2 separate regions of the Homo sapiens genome follow, and region 2 is linked to region 1. Evidence: promoter capture Hi-C in 16 types of primary human blood cells and fetal thymus (Javierre and others, 2016). All regions are on one chromosome and are shown on one strand. The core of a region is centred on a gene start or on the middle of the fragment in contact, and the rest is flanking DNA. Distances in the headings are between cores, read along the strand shown.

The links. Contacts are between HindIII fragments. The CHiCAGO score rates a contact against its expected background, and 5 or more counts as called.
Region 2: a contact is called between a fragment that was not itself captured here and the fragment with the promoter of EPHB6 in region 1, in 2 of 17 cell types (total B cells and naive B cells). The highest score is 6.2, in total B cells.

What each region holds. Positions count from the first base shown.
Region 1 is chr7:142,852,116-142,859,795 of GRCh38, forward strand. It overlaps EPHB6 (EPH receptor B6), which reads left to right and starts at 2,961. Exons shown (of 20, transcript NM_004445.6): 1 at 2,961-3,270. The HindIII fragment of the contact is 5,828 bases long and covers 1-5,729 here.
Region 2 is chr7:142,676,111-142,683,790 of GRCh38, forward strand. It overlaps TRB and the pseudogene TRBVA. Among named protein-coding and RNA genes, the nearest start is that of PRSS1, 70 kb to the right of the region's middle. The HindIII fragment of the contact is 1,895 bases long and covers 3,135-5,029 here.

The DNA.
Region 1 (7,680 bases), core at 1,711-4,210:
AAAGCCTCAAGACAGTTCAGTGAAGGGCCTGAGCCCTGTGAGGTCATGCATTGGGAGCTATAACTAATGTTTTGGAATAAGAGATAGGGGACTCAGAAGACTCCTTTATGGCTTTTTACTAGAATTCTTATCAGTGAAATTATTTGTAAAGCTCTTTGTTTATGACAACATCAGCTTACATTAGCTGTTCTAAGGGGAAATAAGGAAGAAGAAAATTGCACATCCTAGGGGAGTGAGCAAAGCCCAAGAAGGAGGCAAAAACTCAGAAAAAATGAGGCAGAACCAATCTAGGAGCCTTCCTATCTCACCTGGAGTTTTCTACTCAGCAGTTCCTTTTGGTTCCAAATTTACATAATAGATTGTTGTGTGCCAGAAATGATTAATTCTGTGAGCCATAAACTTTATTAGGTCCTGCCCATTAGCAATACTCCAGGGTTTTTTTTTTGAACAAGTCAAAAAAAAAAAATATATATATATACACACATATATATATAGAAAGAAACAGGGTCTCACTCTGTCGCCCAGGCTGGAGTGCAGTAGGACAATCTTGGCTCACTGCAACCTCCGCCTCCCGGGTTCAAGCGATTCTCCCACCTTGGCCTCCTGAGTGTCTGGGACTATAGGCATGCATCACCATGCCTGGCTAATTTTTGTATTGTTTGGTAGAGATGAGGTTTCACCATGTTGGCCAGGCTGATCTCAAACTCCTGACCTCAAGTGATCCTCTCACCTCAGCCTCCCAAAGTGCTGGGATTACAGGCATAAGCCACTGTGCCCATCCACATAGAAAAAGTTTAAATATTATTTTTTATTGATTCATTCTATAACACTTCTAAGCACCTGGAGTGTCCCAGGCACCAAACAAATTATAGCAAAAAATTTACATTAAACTTTAAAAAGGAATTCATTACTTTGCTTTTTAATAGCTGCAGGTTGCAGCATACTTTAACAATGCATTCTATGCTCTCCACCTACCATTAAAACTTGGTTTGATAAGACATAGGCAATTAGGATGCAAAGCCGACTAATCACAAATTTAAACCTCTTTGCATCCTGAGTATGACACTTCCTTTGAAAACTAGATGCCTCTCAAATTTTATTAACAAGACAAATATAACTAATTACACAAGCCTTGAGCAGCAAAAACTTCATTTCATATTATAGTCACCTAATATGAGGTATATCATGAAATAGAAAAGAAGGCAGATATTTTTACTGTTATGTCAATACAGGATACGTTGCAAATTACTACAGGAATTTCTGGGTTTTATAAAGTAACAACTACGGTTTGGTTTTGTCCATATTTTTATTTTAACATAATCTAGTTATGTGTCTTTTTTTTAAGTTTTCAATATAACCATAGATGTCTAGCAATCAGGCATGTTAATGTATGAGTTACGTAATTCCACACACAATGCAAATTCTGTTTCTTTGCAGAAGTCTTTGAAAGCCTTGGAGATAACCAGAAAATGAAGGAAGCCCTCCACCACTGAGTTTCAGGGCAAAGGGAAGAAACAAGATAAAGTAGAACCGTCAGTACAAGTGGAATTATTAATGACGTCCAAATGCAGTCATTAAATACTATCAGACTTATTTATTGACTCCTGATATTAAGAGTGAACAAACCCCTGGCCAAGTGGGAACTTGCTCGGTAGCCTTTATCTTTCTATCACTCATTCAGTCAATTCATTAAAGCCTGTTTGTCTCTCCCAGGTGACTCTTACTGAGTTTCATTGTTTTGTTTATTGTGTTTGTTGGCTCATAGATCTCTTTCACAATTTTCTTCGGCTTCTGAATGCTCTTTAAGTACCAGTTTTGATCAGCCCATTTGCTTTAATAAACAGGAGAGCAAGATGGGACAGGGCGATACAGGGAGAAAAGGGGGCAAAGGGAATCGCACCGGGTGCTTGTGCTCCCTAGAAAAACCAGCAGGTGGTAGCAACACTTCGTGGCAAGGCCCCAGCCCAGCTCTGTAGGACCCAAACAATAGACCCCAAATCCCCGTCCTCGGCTAGAGAAGGGGTTAGAGGTGGGCGGAAACACTTTTCCTCGCGGCGCCCCCTCGGTTCCTCAACCCTGCCTCCAGGCGCCAGCTGAGAGCACCTTGCACCGCCCCTCCTCACTGCAGGGAGGTTCTCTCCGGAGCGCGGGCGAGGGAGGAGGCACCCAGAGGTGCAGCGACTTGCCCAAGCCATGTCAGAGCCAGGCGTACAGCAGCGCTTCCCCTTTTCAACCCGACTGCCCTGCCCCTTGGGGAGGGTAGATGGAGGGAGGTTCGACTCAGAAGCCCCAACGTTGACCAAGATCCAGACACGAAAAGAGAAAAGAGTTCCCGGCTAGCACGGCGACGCTTTCATACCGAGACGCCCCCCTCTCCCGCTGCCTCGGCTCCCCCTACCACCGCCCGTACTCTCCCAGATTTCTCAGTTTGTCTTTCCCTCCACCCCCTGCTTTTCCTTCCTTCTCTCTTGCTCAGCTCACGCCCACCTTAGTTCCAAGCTGAGTAGGAGCCCCACTGTTTTAGTTCCTAGAGTTAAAGCCGAAGAGGAGGGAGGCGCGAGGGGGTGTGTGCAGGGCTCTGCCCTGCCCTGAACTGCCACGGTCCGCCAGTTGCGCTTCGCTCCGCGGGTGTCCGACCCAAGCCGAGCCCGAGCCCGAGCCCAGGCAGGGGCTTTACAGACAGCCTCTTCCCTTCCCACTTCCTGCAGGCGCCCCACGCGTGCGATCCTCCCGGCCAAGACCCGCGGGAGGAGGCCGCCCCCTTCCCGGCGCACAGGCGGGGCCCCGGGCGCGCCCCGCGTCTCCCCCGCGCGCCGGGGCGGAGGAGCGGGCGCCGCGCACTCACCGCCTAGGCCGGGAGGGCGGGCTCGGCTCCCCGGAAGAAGGGAGTGGGAAGGCGGCCAAAGGGGCTGAAGGGGCGGGCCGGGCCGGCTTGGGAGGGGACGCGGAGGGGGCGGGCCGGGCTGCGTTCGCTCCAGCCGCGGCTCTACAGCAGCGGGCGGCGGGACCCGGGACCCAGCTTGGCGACGGCGATCTCGACGCGGGCCCCCAGGATCTCCCGGCGCCCCACCTCTGGAGCAGCCCCTGCCGCCAGCGTCAGGTCCACCCCGGAATCCCAGGGACTCTCGGCGCCGAACGGACCCGGGCCGGGTGCAACGGGGTCCCCGGACTGGAGAAGACGCGGGTGGCACCGTGCGAGCTCCAGGAGCCCCGGGTCCACTGCGAGGCCTCGGGGGGCGCAGACCTGCAGAGACTGCGGCCAACGGGAAGGTGAGCCCGCGGGGTTAGCAGGCGGCGTTGTGGGGGTCGGGGACAGTATGCTTGGGGACAGAGGAATTAAGGTTTGCAAGAGTAGTGGGGCTCCTCAGCCCCTAGGTGGCTTCCTGAGGGAGTACTGAGGATCCTTCCTCAAGGCCAGAGTGGGGTTCATGAAGGGTGAGGAAACGGTCAACCTGGCTACTCCCCTCTCACTCCACTCTGACCTGGCATCATTGACACCGCATTACCCTTGCTGTTAGGATCCCCCAGTTGCGTTCCCAGACATTCTCCTCTGGCTCTGGCTTGGGAGTCCTAATCTGGGAGGGTCCTCGCAGAGACGGAGCTCCACGCTTGGAACAGGATTGCCACCCCTCTGACTCCAGTGGCATCACTCCAATCCCCTTGGAGCTGGGAGGAGTCAGGAGGCTGACCACACACCTGTCCCCTGCTCCCCACAAGGCACTGTCCCCCCCAGCTCCATGACCACAGTTAAGCCTTGGAGGTGGAAGGAACGCTTGGTTCCTGCTGCCCAGCCATCACCCCCAACGTGCAACCAAATTCTATTGCGTGCTCCTGCCCCAGCTCCACCCTCGCTCTGCTCCCTCCATCTGGGTGCTTGGCCCTGCTTGCCCCACACCCCCACCCACCGATCTTGGCCGTCTGGCACCCTCTCTCCTCCCATCCCTGGGGGAGCTGGCATGGACCCAGCATAGCAATGTTGTAATGTCCCTGGCAGCGCCCATGGAGCGGAGCTGCTGGGTCTGTTCCCAGTTAACCCAGGCCCTCCGCCCGCCAGGGGAACTTGACTGAGGCTCTAGGAGGGGAGATGCTGGTCCTGAGCTGAGAGACCAGTGGGAGGGAGCTGTGTGGGGCTGTTAGTAGACCACAGAAGCTGCCCAAGTAAGGGGCATTGGAGCATTGAGGCTTCTGAGTGCTGCTCAGTGGGGCCACTTGGCTTTTCAGAGCAGTGGGCCTTTTTTCTCAAAGGAAGATTAGCGTGGGGGTGTCTATGTACTTACCTGGTGGCCTCAGAAGGAGGACTTGTTTGGAGTCTATTACTCCATTCAGGGTGCAAAAAGATGGTTGGCAATGACACTGAGTTACCAGAATGCTGGGGAGCAACAGGCTGGGGTGGGCTGAGCATGGGAAAGGCAGGATCCTCCTTCTGGGACGGCTGTTCTGCTATCACTCTGTCCTGAGCCTGGGCCCTAGACCCTGAGTTCCCACTCTAGGTAGAAGGAGGATGGCAGGTTCTGGAGGGTTTGGGAAGCCTCAGGTTTCCCTTTCTTTACCCACTCCTCCCCGCCCCCCACTTGGCTCCCTCTCCCAGCCCAGGTGTTTCTGCAGAAGTACCTCCTGGGGCCAAGAGCAACTCACAGCCAGACTGGGGGTAGAGCAGGGGCCGAAGGTGAGGAAGAAGGGCCCATGGAACCACTCCGGAACCAGCACTGATGTGCATCTTCTGCCACAGGAAAGCAACAGCCCCCATCTACACAGACAGCATCTGCTCCCGCCCACCTCATCTCATACACATTCCCTTACACACTCCACCAGGTAGACACACATCCTCAGGCACTGCTGACGCAGGTGCTACTCCTGGCACTCAGGGGCTTTCTTCCACAACCTTCCACTTACTCATCTCTCAGGCACATTTGCCTCCTGCCTTAACACCCTCCCTTATGCTCTTTTCCAGAGCCACGCATGTCCCCGGTCAGTGCACAGAGTGGCTCATTCTAAGTGGCTGTCTGGCTAGACCTAGACACTGCCTGCATCTTAAAAGCCTCCCCCAGCTCCACAGCCTGGGAGTGGGAGGCACATTTGTCTGAGTCACAGTGCTCTGGGGGACATTCTCAGGGGCTGGAGGCCTCCAGGGACACAGGACTGTCCTCTGCTAGGTAATCTACAAATTGGCTTCTCCAGCCAAGGAAGCAGGGACTAGAAGAGCCGGAGGACAGCCACCTCCTCACTGTCTGTCCTGGATGCCTCCATGAAGCCTGATGATGGGATCCTTCTCAAGGCAGGAGGCCAGAGCACGAAGAGATCTCCAAGGTGGAGATTAAAGGATAGAGGCTTTGGCATTAAACTGAGCAAGGATTATACTGGAATTTCCTGGGCGTTTAACAGCTGTGGAACAGGATAGGGGACAGGGCCTGTGGTACTGACCCCTCCCACACTGACCTGTGTGGCTCACAGGTGTAAGGACCAGCCCAGCAACCACACCAGACATAAAACCTCGAACCGCTTTGCCCTTGGGACTGTTCTGTCCCTGCTGGACTCTGCAGCCTGCTTTGTCTCACTAAATTGTTCCTGTCTGGGCTCGGTTTGGGGCCATGCCCTTTACTATGTGTTCCCAGTGGACAGTCCCCTGGGTTCCCCTCTGTCCCTTCATAGCCTCATCCCTTTGCTTGACATCGTCGAAGAGAAGCATGCATGATGTCAGCAGCGGGACAGTTGGAACTTCTTGGGAGACAAGCTTAAAGACTAGCCAGAGATAACAATTATTTTGGTTTTCTTGTTGGCATTACTTCACTCATTCATTCTCAGCTCCTACTGTATTTCCACCTCTACCTTCTTCTTATAGATGAACATTTCTTGATATTTTGAAACATAGAAGGAAAATGGCATGGGGAGTGAATAAAATGTAAACGTATGCTTATTTGTCTAGGTTTTACAAATATTTTTCTTTTTTGTTTAGATTTTAATTATGAGATTTTACGTTAATTATAAAAATAAGGTATGCTTACTGTAACAAGAAAAATAATTGAATTATGTGTAAGACAAAATTAATGCCCCCACCTACAATCCTTCATTTCTACCTCCCACAGTAACCCATTTTAATGGCCTAATATGTCTTCTGCCTACCTTCCTCCAAGCTTATTTGGCTTACATTATTTAATCTTTAAAAATTCACTTTGTGGATTGAGGTGCATAAACTATATTAAGTAAGCTTGATTTGCTCATGAAAATATCATATTTAGCATTTAATTGGAGCACGATTAATTTTTTAAATTCTTACCAATTTACCAATTTAATTTACTTTTAAGTCATTCTTTTTTTTTTTTTTTTTTTTTTTTTTTTTTGAGACAGCATCTTGCTCTGTCGCCGAGGCTGGAGTGCAGTGGCACGATCTCGGCTCACTGCAAGCTCTGCCTCCCGGGTTCACGCCATTCTCCTGCCTCAGCCTCCCCAGCAGCTGGGACTACAGGCACACGCCACCACGCCCAGCTAATTTTTTTTTTTTTTTTTGTATTTTTAGTAGAAACGGGGTTTCACCGTGTTAGCCAGGACGGTCTCGATCTCCTGATCTTGTGATCCGCCCACCTTGGCCTCCCAAAGTGAAATATTTCATTTTTATAGCAACATAACTCGTAAGCTATGCTTTGTAACCTATGATTCTACAAATCTTTACTTTTTGCCAGTTTCTGAAAACAAAACACAACCTTGATACCTAAGAAACAGTCTTATTTTTGTAAACCAAAGAGATGTAGCAGGCTTGTGGATCTATTGTCTCTACTGTATCAAAAAGATATTAAGTGATATATCTATAAAAGAAGCTGAGAACATATTATAAAGTCATAGACTGCAATTTTTGTTACCTAAAACTTTGTCTAATCCGTCTCGTTTTCTCCACCATTGTTTTATGTTCACATTTCTGCTGCTTCTGGTTTTATATTTTTAAAACCTTATACACATCTGAAATGTGAATATTTTTCTAAAGGAGATAAGTTCTTTTGCACATTCTTGTGTTAGAGAATTTCTAAATACTGACCAGTTCCTTTTGTAAGTCAGAGGAGAGAGGACTCTCAAGCAGGCTGTGAGAGAGGAGCAAGGGGCCTGGCTTTGCAGAGGCTGCTTCCCATCTCTGTGGCAGGAGAAATGTACTGGCCTGTCCCTGGGATGCTCTCCTGGACCAAATGCAGAAGATGCTCCATGCCCACAACCATTGAAGACACCTTTGAAAAATCAAGTTCTGAGTCCTGCTTACTTAGCATTCCAGGCATGTGGAGCAGCCGTGTTCTTGTCACTTATGTTTCTGCCTTTGAAATTGGCTTCAAAAGAATCTGCAGTGGTATGAATTTGCTGACAGCAATTTATTCCATATCTTAATAAAGCTTCCTTTTTCTTTATTTGGATTCCTGCAACAGGGGTACACCCATATTCTTTTTATATATTAAAATTAAAAGTCTTGAATTTATCTGGTTTGTTTGATAAGTAAGAACTCACCTAACTTCCTAGTCTGACTCAGCAACAATTTTTTTTTTCTGAAAAAATGTATTTATAACCTTCAGTCATCTGGATCTGAATCTAAAAGAGGTCCTCATCAAACATTAGAAGTATCCTTCTGGGTACTTTAAGATCCTCAACCATTTCTTTTTAATGAATATCTTTGTTCTTAGTAAAATTTCAAAAAATTGCTGAAGT
Region 2 (7,680 bases), core at 2,832-5,331, 170 kb before region 1:
AATCTCTTCAAGCTTTCATGTTTAAGGTGAGTGTTTATTTCTTTCATGCTGTTAGTCAGGATGAGAGAGTTCAATCTGTTCATAATTTGTTGAGATTTTATTATGATTGGGTACAGGTTATTTTGTCAAATTTATTTTATTGCACACATTGAGATAATAATCTGATATGTTTTTATTCTATTAATATGGTATATTACATTAGTTGATTTTGGATGTCAAGGCAATCTTGCATTGGCGGGATAAATCCCACTTGGTCATAGTATATAATCTTTTCATATATGGCTAAATGAGGTTTGCTAATATTTTATGGAGACCATAGACATACTAGTTTGTAGTTTTCTTGTGATTTCTTTTTATTTAGAATCAAAGTAATTCTGACCTGTTAGGCTGAATTAGGAAATTGTGGACTGAACTTGGATGAATTTAGGAATAATCTCTTATTCTTTATTTTGTGGAAGTTTTTTCTTGTAGGAGTGGTATTATTTAAATATTTGATGGAATTTACCAGTAAAGTCAGCTAGTCCTGAGCTTGTCTCTGTGACATGGAGTGACAAACTATTGCTCACATGTTAAAGTCAAGCTATGGCCTATATTTGTATTACTCATAAACTAAGAATAAATTTTATACTTTTAAAGTGTTAGAAGACGGAAGAGGAGGAATAGGAGAAAAAGAACTGACAGAGGTTGCATATGGCCCAAAATATTTACTATCTAGCTCCTTACTGAAAAATTTTGCTGACCTCTGCTCTATATGGTGTTATTTACTAAAATACTTCTTTACTTGTAATATGTCTATCCAGACATGTGGCTTTTTTTCTTGAGTTACTCTTATGTCTTTCTAGGAATATGTCTGCTTCACCCAAGTTGTCAAATTCATTGACATAGTGTTGTTCATAACATTTCCATATATTTCTATAGGGTTAGTAATTGTATTCTTCATTTTCACTCCTGACTTTGCAATTTCTATTTTCTTGCTTTTTATCTTGTTCAGTCTGACTAAAGTGTTATCAATTTTATAGCATTTCAAGTAAACAGTTGTAGTTCCATTGATTTTCTCTATTATTTTTCTATTATCTATTGAATTGATTTTTAATTTGATCTTTTTTTTTTTTTTTTTTTTTTTGAGATGGAGTCTTACTCTTTCGCCCAAGCTGGAGTGCAGTGGTGCTATCTCGGCACACTGCAAGCTCCGTCTCCCAGGTTCACGCCATTCTCTTGCCTCAGCCTCCTGAGTAGCTGGGACTACAGGCACCCGCCACCACGCCCAGCTAATTTTTTGTATTTTTTCTTTTTTAGTAGAGACGGGGTTTCACCGTGTTAGCCAGGATGGTCTCTATCTCCTGACCTCGTGATCCGCCTGCCTCAGCCTCCCAAAGTGCTGGGATTACAGGCACAAGCCACTGCGCCCGGCCTAATTTGATCTTTGTTATTTCTTCCTTATGTTTACTTTTGGTTGACTTTTCTCTTATTTTTCCAGTGTCTTCAGGTAGAAGTTTAGATTATGATGGAAACTTTTGTAGTTGTTTTCCTAATGCAGTTATTTAAAGTTATACATTTCCCTCTAATCATGGCTGCATTCCATGTACATTGATATATTTTTAGTTTTTTAGTTAAAAGCATAATTTTTCTAGAAATTCCTTTTGAAGCCCATGAGTTATTTAGGAGTGTGATGTTTAATTTCCAAATATTTGTGATTTTTCCAGCTTCTTTCTGTTGTTTATTTCTAATTAAATCCCTCTGTGATGAGAGAATATACTTTGAATTATTTTAATCCTCCTATCTGTATGTTATTATATAACATATAATCTATATGGGGAAATACTCTATGAGCACTTGAAAAAGTGTACATTCTGCTGTTGCTGAATAGTGTGTTCTAAAATCATCAATTAAGTCAAATAGTTTAGTAGTGTTTTTCAGGTCTTTTTACCCTTATTTACTTTCTGTCTAGTTGGTGTGGTCAATTTTTCAGACTGGAGGATTTAAGTCACCAACTATAATTTTGGTATGTTTATTTTTGTTTCATTTCTGTCATTTTTACTTTATGTACTTTGGGACTCTGTTGTTAGGCCCCAGGAGTTACTCCACAATGCTGTACAGGCAAATGCTTTCTATACTAAAAGTAACTAAACTTAGAGATTTGTGAGTACCATCAAGCATACCCATATATGTAAAATTGGAGTCTTAGAAAGAGAGAAGTGAGAGAAAGACAAAGAAAAAATAATGGCCACAAACTTCTCAAATTTGTTGAAAAACATTAATCGAAAGAATCTAGAAGCTTAACATCTCTCAAACACAGTAAACACAAAGATATCTATGTCTAGCTACATTATAGTTAAACTTCAGAAAGCCAAAATCCACAAATAATGTATTGAAATCAATATATTTTTTCAACAAGAGAAAAATGACTCATCATTTGAAAGAGAAGAGCAATACAATTAATCTGACTTTAAATCAGAAGTCATTGTTTCTGACTTTAAATCAGAAACAATGGAGATCAGAAGATAATGGAGAGGCACTGAAAGAAAAAAATTCCACCAAAAATTCTATATCCAGCAAAACTATCCTCTGTAAATGAAAATGAAATAAAGACATTCCCAGATAAACAAAGGCTACAGAATTGTGTGGTTAGCAGACCTGTCTTACAAGAAATATTAAAGGAAGTCATCCAGCTGAGAGAAAATGACATTGTTAGCAACTAAAATCCATAGTAAGAAATTAAAAGCACCTTAAAGGATAAATATATGTGTGAATAAATATAAAAAATACATATGCACAAACACACATAGAAGGAATATATATTTTGTATATTTTTTATATCATTTGATATACATATATAGGTTGAAACTTTAATCATTATGAAGTGTTTTTCTGTAATAATATTTTTTGCTTTAAAATTTATTTCTCTGATATTAATATAGCCACTCAAGCTTTTATGGTTACTAATATGACATATGCTTTTCCATACTTTACTTTCAATATATTTGTGTCTTTAAAACTAAAGTGATTTCCCATAGTCAGAAAATAGTTGGATTTTGGTCTTTCTATTTTACAACATAAAATCAACTCAAAATAAATTAAAGACATAAGCATAAGACCTGAAATTTTTAAAATACTATTAGAAAACATAGGGGAAAAGCTTCTTAATACTGGTCTTGGTAAACAATTTTTAGATATTACTGCAAAAGCATAGGCAACAAAAACCAAATTAGACAAGTGGGATTACATCAAACTAAAAAGTTTCTGCACAGGAAAGGAAAGGAAAGGAAAGGAAAGGAAATAATCAACAGAATAAAAAGGCAAGCTACAAAATGGGAGAAAATATTTGCAAACCACATGTCTGAAAAAGGATTAATATCCAAAATATATAAGAAATTCACACTCATTAGCAAGAAAACAACCCAATTAACATATGGCCAAATGACCTGAATAGACATTTCTCAAGAGAAAGCATACAAATGAATAAATGTTTATCATTGCTAATTATCAGAGAAATATAAATTAAAGCCACAATGAGATATCACTTCACAACTGATACACTGGCTAACACTACAAAGACAAAAGATAACAAGCATTGATAAGGATGTGCAGAAAAGGGAATCATGTACATTGTTGGCAGAAATGTGTGATGGTTAATATTGAGTGTCAACTTGGTTGGATTAAGGATGCAAAGTATTGTTCCTGGGTGTGTCTGTGATGGTGTTGCCAAAGGAGATTAACATTTGAATCAGTGGACTGGGAAAGGCAGACCACCCTCAATATGGGTGGGTACAATCTAATCAGCTGCCAGCATGGCTAGAATAAAAGCAGACAGAAGAATGTGGAAGGACTAGACTGTCTAAATCTTCTGGCTTTCATCTTTCTCCCATGCTGGATGCTTCCTGCTCTCAAACATCGGATTCCAAGTTCTTCAGTTTTTAGACTCTTGGACTTAAACTAGTGATTTGCCAGGGGCTCTTGGGCCTTCGGCCACAGACTGAAGACTACACTCTCAACTTCCCTACTTTTGATGTTTTGGGACTCAGACTGGCTTCCTGGCTCCTCGGATGGCAGAAGACCTATTATGGGACTTTACCTCGTGTTTGTATGAGTAAATACCCTTTAATAAACTCCTCTTCATCTATCCTATTAGTTCTGCCCCTTTAGAGAACCCTGACCTAATACAGAATGTAAATTAGTACAGCCATTTTGACAAACAGTATGGAGGTTCCTCAGAAAATTAAAAATAGAACTATCATATAATCTAGCAATTCCAGTTCTAGATATAAATCCAAAGGATATGAAATCTGTATGTTGAATAAATATATGTACTCTTGTGTTCCTTGAAGCATTATTCACATAGCCAAAATACAGAATTAACCTAGGTTTCCACCAAGGGATGACTAGATGAAGAATATATGATATAAATTCTGTATATGTATATATAAATATATATATTATTTATACGTATATGTGTATACATACACACATACACACACACACACAATGGAATAATACTCAACCCTACAGAAAAAGGCAATCATATAATTTGCAACAACATGTTTGGACCTGGAGACATTATGCTAAGTGAAATAATTCAGGCACAGAAAAACAAATAATGCATGGTCTCACTTATTCATGGAATCCAACAAAGTCAAACCCACAGAAGCAGAGAGTAGAAGGGTAATTGCCAAGCACTGGGATGGGGTTTCAGGAAGGGAGGCATAGGAAATAGGGAAATGTTGGTCAAAAGGTACATGTTTTAATCAGACAGAAAGAAGTTCTAGAGACCTAATATGCAGCATGATTACTATAGTTAATAATATATGTACTCTTGAAAATTGCTAAGAATGTAGATTTTAAATGTTCCTACCAAAAAAAAGTCAAAACAAAATAAGTATGTGAGATTATGCATATGTTAGCTTGATTTAATTATTCCACAATGTATACATATATTAAAATGTCACAATATCACATTGTATACAATAAATATATATAATTTCTATTTGTCAATTTTAAATAAATAATAAAGAAATGAGATAGCTTTCAACTAAGCTTATATAGCAGTATAATATAAAAATTTTTGTAGTAACAAAATTATAGTAATTTTGGCTTATACTGAAATGTGCATTAAACAAGTGTTTGCATAAAATATAATTCAAATTACTATTCATAGCCCACAGCCATGAAAACATGTGTGCCTTACTCTTGGTACAGAAACAAATAGCTTTTACTCCTAAGGAAAAAAGAAAATTCCTGCCTTTTGATGAGAATTGTTTGAGTTTTATACTTATTTTATGGGGAACTTTGCTGACCTCTTCATTCCACCATAGCTGGTTATTCCTCCCTTGCATGTACTTTTGTTTCCTGGGGGCAGTGAGTCTTGGAAACATTTGGGAAATTCTTATTCTGAGCTTGCCTGCCCACAGCCCAGGTTCCTTCCTGGAGTCTGCAGCACCAGGCTCTCTCCTTGGCTCTCTTTCTGTCTTCTGTCCCCTCAGCTCATAAACCCCAGCTCGTAGAAGCTGAAGCCACCTAGACTCTAAGACACCTGATTGCAGAGACAGGAAAGGAGTTCTCAAGATAAGTGCCAAGATTTCATACTGGTTTTCACAAGAATCAGGGTTGGAATTAGAGCCGACTCATTATTCAGTTAACATTGACATTGTTGATTAGAGACATATCCCTATTGAAAATATTTCCTGGCAAAAAATAGAAGTTCTCTTTGGCTCTGAAATCTGCAACTCCCTTTCAGATGTCCCTGTGTCCTTGTACCGTCACTCCACAGCACTGCACAGGCATGTGCTCACCTCACAAAATGGCAGTCTCAAAGGGAGGAGTGCCCACCCACAAGAGGCTCCACCCTATTCTGAGAAAGAACTTCTTTCAGAGGAGGAGAGAATAGAACTTTCCAGAACCTTTTACATGAGATTTTTTTTTTTGGGTAGGAAGTCTGACCTGAGCAGCAACCTTGCATCAGACTTCAAAAGGCAATATTTCCTATACCTCCTTGTGCTCTACTAGTGAGTACAGAAGTCGAGAAAATGTTCCTAAGTCTATGGCCAGTTCAAATAGTCTCATTTTCTATTTCTGAGATTAAATTATATGTATTAAGATCCTTACTCTGCCCTTTCAGGTTTATTGCTCCTCAGACAAGATATCCCCTCTTCAGGTCCCAAACACATTCATTGCAATGCCTTTCCTCATCCTTGTCCCAGTCCTGGCTCTCTAGCTTCTTGAGACAATAACCCACCCTAAGGTATGTTGTGACATGCATCTTCTGTGTCACTGGGATCCCTAAGTGGTACAAGCATTCACTCAATTGCTTTAGCTAGAGTCCCCAGAATATCTTCACCTCTTCTGTCACATTCTTCTTCCACATTGGTCCATAAACACATCTTTAACATTTCTGTTTATTAAAACCTCTCAAATTCAACCACTATTTTCTATCCCAACGAATACTGCCTTAGCTCAGGCAACCACTGTCTTCGATCTGAATTACTTCTTTGACCTGAATTACTTCAACTCCTACCAAATATCCACCTACCTGATGTCTTACTCTCTTTTCTAACTCAGTTCATTCTCTGCAGCTGAAAACACTTCCTTTCCATTGACTTTAGGGTTATGACCAGTCTTCTTTATATCTAAATGTTAGCCTATAAGTTTTTTCGTAAAAAAAAAAAAAAAAACTTCCAAACTACAAATTCTTAAAACCCTCCATAATTTGGCCCTTGCATACCTATCCAGTCTTGTGAAATTCACCTACTCTTTACCCACTTTTTGCATACTTATGCTCTAATAATATTCATAATCCCTCAGCTCTCCCAAAGCTCCATATGTACTTTCTCACTCACTCCTGAGCCTTTACACATGCTGTTCACACTAGCTAGAATAATCTTTCTCTCCCTATTTATCTGTACTCCTAATCCTTCATGTTTAAATGGCATAATCATCATGGCTGAGTCTCTGACTATGCGTGGTAAATACCCCATGGTACCCAGAGCTTCTACAATCATAGAGTATCACACATTTCATTGTTTAACTTATTATGATAGTTTTTAAAATTATTAATACAAAATATGCTCAATGAGGCCAAGGACCATGTCCAAGGTTTTAATTTTTGTATCTTCAACAGTATTACAGGCTTTGAATAAAGTAGTTGCTCTTTAAATATTTATTGAACAAACCAGGGTTTTATCAGTTCTTGCTTCCCTAGCTAAGATATGATCTCAGTCATCTAAACATTTCTCTCTCAGAAGTATTGCTGCAGTTATTTAGAGATTTTCACATTGTGGTAGACTGAATAATAATCTCCCAAAATATTCAGATCTGAATCCTTGAAAATCTTGAATATGTTCTCTCACATTGCTGAAAGGATTTTGCAGATGTGATTAAGTTAAGGATCTTGAAATGGGGAGGTTTTCCTTGATTAGCTGAGTGGGCTCAATATCATCACATACTTTCCTAAAATATCTTACCTAAAACCACCTCTGTGAAGCCCTCTTTCTTTTCCCAGACAGATATGGAGGTTTCTTTCTTTATGTGTTTATAATAAATTAAACAAACTTCAACTTCTATCACTATGTTATGATATTTATGGTCATGTCTGACTCTTCCTAGACTAGTATGGTTTTTGAGGGATTGGACTATATATTCGCTTACCTTTGTAAATCCAGTATGTAGGACTTGGTACAATATATTGGA